Regions from separate parts of the Homo sapiens genome. Here region 1 is linked to region 2. Evidence: promoter capture Hi-C in human tissues and cell types (Jung and others, 2019). All regions are on one chromosome and are shown on one strand. Each heading gives the region's core, a stretch centred on a gene start or on the middle of the fragment in contact. The rest is flanking DNA. Distances are from core to core; before and after follow the strand shown.

Region 1 (3,105 bases), core at 567-3,066, 170 kb after region 2:
ACAAATGCTGGAGGATAGCATACAAGAAAAGTGGGACTAATCAGCTGGGCGCACTGGCTCACGCCTGTAATCCCAGCACTTTGGGAGGCCGACACAGGCAGATCATGAGGTCAGGAGTTCAAGACTAGCCTGACCAACATGGTGAAACCCCATCTCTACTAAAAATACAAAAAATAGCTGGGCATGGTGGTACGTGCCTGTAGTCCCAGCTACTCAGGAGGCTGAGGCAGGAGAATTGCTTCAACCTGGTAGGCGGAAGTTGCAGTGAGTTGAGATCATGCCACTGCACTCCAGCTTGGGTGACAGAGTGAGACTCCATCTCAAAAAAAAAAAAAAAAAAGTGGGACTAATTGTCATAGTTGTTTTTCTTCAGCCACATTTAGCTGGATGGATATAGGAGTGGAATAGGCAGCTCTAGGCTCTTCTTTATTGTTTCGCCAGATGCTCTGGTTCCTTCATTTAAAAACTGTATGTTAAATTATAAGAATATGCCATGATTGACTGGGCACAGTGGCTCACACCTGTAATCCCAGCACTTTGGGAGGCCAAGGAAATGGATCACTTGAGGCCAGGAGTTCGAAACCAGCCTGGCCAACATAGCGAAAACTCATCTCTACTAAAAATACAAAAATTAGTCGGGTGTGGTGGTGCACACCTGTGGTCCCAGCTACTTGGGATGCTGAAACATGAGAATCACTTGAACCTGGGAGGTGGAGGCTGCAGTGAGCTGAGATCGTACTGCTGCACTCCAGCCTGGGTGACAAGGCAAGACCCTGTCTCAAAAAGAATATGCCATGACTTATTGTTAACCTATTCACTTCCCAGTATTTCTGTTGTGTTCATATTTTTACTCTTTAAAACACTGCCTCAATAAACATCTTTGTGTGTGTCTCTTTTCCTCACAAGGGAGAATTTCTAGTCTAGGATATGTATCTCCTAGTGGTATTGCTGAGACATGAGATATGCTTAGCTTTGATTTTACTGGATATTGCCAAATTACTCCCCAAAATAATTATACCAAGTTACCCTCTTGCCAGCAGTGTATAAAAGTTCTAATTCCCCTCTGCCAGATTTCTCAATTTTTGCCAGCCTAATTGGTAGGAAACAGTATTACATTGTTTTATTTTGCAATATTCTGACTTCAAGATTGAGCATCTTTTCATTTACCTACCAGTCTTCTTTGTCTAGCAATCAATCTCCACTCAATTGCTCACTTAAAACACTATATCACTATATTAAGTATCTACCATATGCCTGGCATTAATTAGCAGGGTAATAAAAAGAGCTATCAAAACAGACATGGACTCTTGCCTTCCTGGAACTCACCATCTAGTGTAGGAAAAAGAAAACCAAATAATCACAAATACAAACTGTGGTAACATGGAGGACATTAACAGTAATCCATGAAAATTTTTAAAAGGGAGACCAATGTAATTGAAATAGGAGAGTCAGCAAAACCTTTCCTGAAGCACCATTTGCATTTTAACAGATGAGTAGGAATTAACCACCTTAGTATTTTTAAAAAGTGCTCAATCTTGAAGTCAGAATACTGCAAAGTGAAAAGCCTACTGCAGCTATTAAAAAAACCAAGCATCACCACCATCAATATGCCTAAAAGTGCAGAAGTCTTTTCTCATCTTCCATGGAGGTGCGCTAGATGCTCTGGCAGGTAAAAGTATATCATACATATTTTAGGTTTCTTTAATGCAAGCAACAAACATAAAAAATTAGCTTGAGCAAAAAGGAGAAACTGTTGGACTGATGGGGAGCTTCCTGAATCCCAAGGAGAGCTTCAGAAATTGAGCCAGGTCTAAGGACATCAGGAAATAGAAACAAGAACACCATCATGTCAACCTTGTCCTCTCCTACTTCCCATCTCTGGTAAGAAATCAGGTTCCAGGAAGCTCTAGGCCTTTATCTTTTGGCCTAGCAACACAAAAGCCCAAAGTAGGGCTCCTTCCAGCTCTACTTGGAAAAAATTCTGGCAAAGGACTCTGATTAGCTGAACTAGGTCTCATGCCTGCCCCTAAAACTATCAGTGAGCCCCAGGGACATCCTGATTTAGGTTCCTACAGTCAATACAATCAGATTGTTGCAAGAGGAAAAGGGGGAAAATGCTGGGCAAAGACAAGAACTACCACCACACCGCTAACCAGAAGTTATAAGGATTGAATGACAGATGTGAAACACCTAGCACAATGTCTTTAAAGTAGTAAGCATTCAATAAATGGTAGCTATTAACTCACCTGGCTGTGATGAGTTTAGCAGTTAATTCCTCCCTCTTGGTGCACCACTCTTTAATCTTAGCCAAGTTCTGAAAATTGAAAACGACAAACTGACTCCCATTCAACTCAGAAGGCTATTTATTGAAAGAATACAATGATGTTACAAGGATGCATTTCACGTAGCCCTAAAAGGCTGGGTATCCATAAGTGCATGGTTCATGGCTGTTGGGACTAAGAAAGCCTTCTGGTCAATGAGCCACACATATGTCCTGGGCTCCCTCCCTGTCAATGAAGATGTGCTGAGTTTCAGAGTGGTGGCTGGATCTAGGCCAAGCACCAAACACAAACCAGTACTCTCCTTTGGGTCTTCTGGAACTAAGGTTTTATAAACTTCCGTAACAGTGGGGGCAGCACTCAGTTGGTTACAATTCATGCCATTCCTGAAAGTAGTCCACTATGGGGATCCCCAAACAACCAGTAGCATAATGAGTTCCTGACAGGCATCCTAGCCAATCAGTAGGGAGGGTCTGAGTAGAATTACCCATTGTCAAACTATGTATCAGATAATAGAAGCACAGCCTTGGCATTGTGTGTGAGCTAATCATGGTGCACCATAAACAAGGTGTTTTGGATGGTCAGCATCTCAGAAGGGCAGATCTGCCATTGAATATTCCATTTTGCATCACAGAGGAGAGACTAATTGAGCTACACATATTACATTTCAGCCCCCATGCACAATTTTTTCCCTGCAAAGAATGAAGAATACTTGGGTGCTGCTGCATGCCATCCATGATGAGAGAAAGGCAATGAATCCTGCTATGTGGCATGCAAAGAATCCAGTAGGAAAGGTTCACCATCAATACGACCAATATCTTGCCCC
Region 2 (3,027 bases), core at 388-2,887:
ATCTGTAAACAAAAGCCACAGCCCAGTAACCAAGAGAGGGCTGCTCTTCAGTCATCCCAGAGATGGTGCTTAATGGGGCCTGGGAGTCAGATCCCAGTTCAGATATCTGCTCTGCTGACCCTGAGCAAGTGGACGTCACTCTCTTAGCCTCGGTTTGCTCAACTGTAAAACGGGAATACTCCTGCCAGGCCTTCCCACCCACCAGGTTTTTGCAGTCTGAAATGAGAGACTGTCTCTACAGTGCTGAGGGCAATAAGAGAAATACGAAGGCTTCTAGTAAGTGCCCTCAACCTCCTCTTCTTTATAACATAGTCAACAACCAGGCAGGGTTACCCCCTCCACCACAGTGTTCAGTCGTAAACGTTTGGATCCCCAAATCTGCGTAAATTCCAAGGGGTGTCGTTTGAGCCAAGGAGGGAGCTTGCCCATTGCAACCCAGGGGTGTGGGAGTGCAATTTCTCGGCCCCTTTCCAACCCCTCCCTACTCCGCCCAGGGACACCGGCAGCGCGCCCTCACCTCTGCCCAGGACGCGGCCTCTCTCCAGGTGGCGCCGGGGCACCGTGAACGTGTAGCTCTCGGCGTCAAAGCCAGGGTGGCAGGGCTCCGGCTCCTGGCAGAGCCAAGAGGAGACCTGGGGTGGGGGAAAGGTAGATGGAACCGGGTGACTCGGAGGGTTCCCTCCTGCTCACCGAAACCAACAGCGCCGCCCCTCCCTCGCTCCCGGCGTCGGGATTGGGGGAGGACCCCAGCCCGCAGCCCCGGGACGGGCGGGCAGCGACGTCACCCTCCCCCACCCCGAAACCTACGGCCGCCGAGCCCCCAGGAACTCCCGGGAGGGGGCCGCCGAGTCACCCCCTCAAGACCTAGCCCACCGTTCCCTTTCAGTCTCCTTTCTCATTTTATTGGAGATGTCTTTATTCTCCAGTACCCCACTTTCCTTAGACCGGGAATGCACCACTCCTCAGAGCGAGGGGCGCTCCCACCTCCTCCGACCTCACTTTCTTATCCCCGGGACCCTCACTCCTATTTACGACCTTTCTTGGCATGGCAGGTGCCTTTATTTCTACGGATGCCCCTCTCCTTCCCTCGAAGATCGTCCCCACGACTCCTGGCTCCCCCTCGACTTGCACCAGGGCACCCCTTCTCCACACCCCACCCCCTACACCCCGCTTCACGCCCCCACCGCCCGCGCGAGCCCACCCCGCGGACTCCGCGGCCAGACGCCCCCGCCTCGGTCTGCGCTGGAGGGGGCAGGAAAGCCGCGCTCGCCCCTCACCACCCACCCCCCACTCCCATCACTGGGGGGTCCGGAGCGCGCGAGGCTTCCAGGCCGCTCCGCTCCTCAGGACCCGAACTTTCTTGGAAGAAGGGAAGCGGTGACGACGGGAGAGGAAGGGGCGCAGGGCTGGGGCGCGGAGCTTGCGGCCCGAATGCGTCCCTCGCAAGTCAGGGGATCCGGGGTACCTGCAGCAGCAGCAGCAGCGCCGAGAGGCTGCGGCTCCAAGGGCCCATGGCTGGCCGGGGACGCCGAGCGAGGGCAGGCGCCGGGTGCGGTCGGGTCGGGCCGGGCTGGAGCGGGCTGGAGTCTGAACTGACTTCCGCAAGCTCACAGGTGCTTTGCAGTTCCGACGCCACTGAGAGGGGGTGCGTGGCTGCAGCCAGGTGAGCCCCGGAGGCACCGCCCCCCGTACCGCTGATTGGCTGAGGGTTCACCTGCCGGCCACAGCCAATCAGCAGCGCGGACCCCTCCCCAGGGCGGAGCTGACGGCCCGCCCACCCGGCCTCGCATAGACGCGGTGACCCTCTAGCCTGGAGTTGCTAGGGTCTAGGTGGGTTATGGGACCTGCACGGTTCTGATTCCACTGGGTTCGAATCCCAGCCCCGCCGGTGGCTCACTAAGACCTGGGATCAGAAAGGGCTTTTACACTTGGCTGAGTTCTTTTGTTTTTTGGGATTTTTTGTTTGTTCGTTTTGGAGATGGGGTCTCACTCTTTCACCCAAGCTGGAGTGCAGTGGTGCGATCACAGCTCACTGCAGCCTCGAACTCCTGGGCTCAAGCGGTCCTCTGGCCCCAGCCTCTCTAGTAGCTGGGAGTACAGGTGCACACCACCACGCCAGGCTAATTTTTTTTTCTTTTGCCTTTTTGTAGAGAGACAAGTCGGGGCGGACAGGGGCAGTGGGGGCGCTGTGTCTCCCTGTATTGCCCAGCCTGGTCTCGAACTCCTGGGCTGAAGCGATCCTCCTGCCTTGGCCTCCCAAAGTGCTAGGATTTCAGGTGTGAGCCATGAGCCACTGAGCTAGCAGCCTAATTTTTTGTTTGTTTGTTTTGTTTGTATTTTTTGAGACGGAGTCTCGCTCTGTCTTGCCCAGGCTGGAGTGCAGTGGCACGATCTCGGCTCACTGCAACCTCCGCCTGCCGGGTTCAAGAGACTCTCCTGTCTCAGCCTATTGAGTAGCTGGGACTACAGGCGTGTGCCACCACACCGGCTAATTTTGTATTTTTAGTACAGACGGGGTTTCACCATGTTGGCCAGGCTGGTCTGGAACTCCTGACCTCAGGTGATCCACCCTCTTCAGCCTCCTGAAGTGTTGGATTACAGGCGTGAGCCACTGCACTCTGCCTCGAGCGGCCTAATTTTTTAAAAAATTTTTCTAGAGAGGGGATCTCACTATGTTGCCGAGGCTGATCTCAAATTTCTGAACTCAGGCGATCCTCCTGCCTCAGCCCCTTTACTGAGTTCTCATTTTTTAATCTAGTCTTTTTTAACTGTAGAGCTTCATGGGTTAGTGAGTCAGCAAATTGATTCCCTAGGTCAGGACCACCTCCCAAAGCCTCAGTTTCTCCACCCTCCTAATGGGAATAATGATCAGAAATGTCTCCCTATGCTGTTGTGGGACTCCCATACAATTAAAATGACAAATGTTTCTTGAGCCATAAATGCTCTGTACAGAAGTGAGGGGTAAAAATAGTAACAATAGGGCCAGGCATGGTGGCTCACGCCTGTAATCCCAGCACTTTGGGAGGC

The links. Contacts are between HindIII fragments. The study calls those that stand out against the background at their distance.
Region 1: a fragment that was not itself captured here is called in contact with the fragment with the promoter of CDH1 in region 2 in 2 of the 25 tissues and cell types used here (adrenal gland and liver).

The regions. Positions count from the first base shown.
Region 1 is chr16:68,566,372-68,569,476 of GRCh38, reverse strand. ZFP90 (ZFP90 zinc finger protein) reads right to left here. Exons shown (of 5, transcript NM_001305203.2): 5 at 2,346-3,105. Among named protein-coding and RNA genes, the nearest start is that of ZFP90, 29 kb to the right of the region's middle. The HindIII fragment of the contact is 4,837 bases long and covers 1-3,105 here.
Region 2 is chr16:68,735,902-68,738,928 of GRCh38, reverse strand. It overlaps CDH1 (cadherin 1), which reads right to left and starts at 1,637. Exons shown (of 16, transcript NM_004360.5): 1 at 1,466-1,637; 2 at 518-632. The coding sequence starts at 1,513. RefSeq lists a silencer at 1,522-1,591, a cis regulatory region at 2,544 and an enhancer at 2,472-2,616. The HindIII fragment of the contact is 7,364 bases long and covers 1-3,027 here.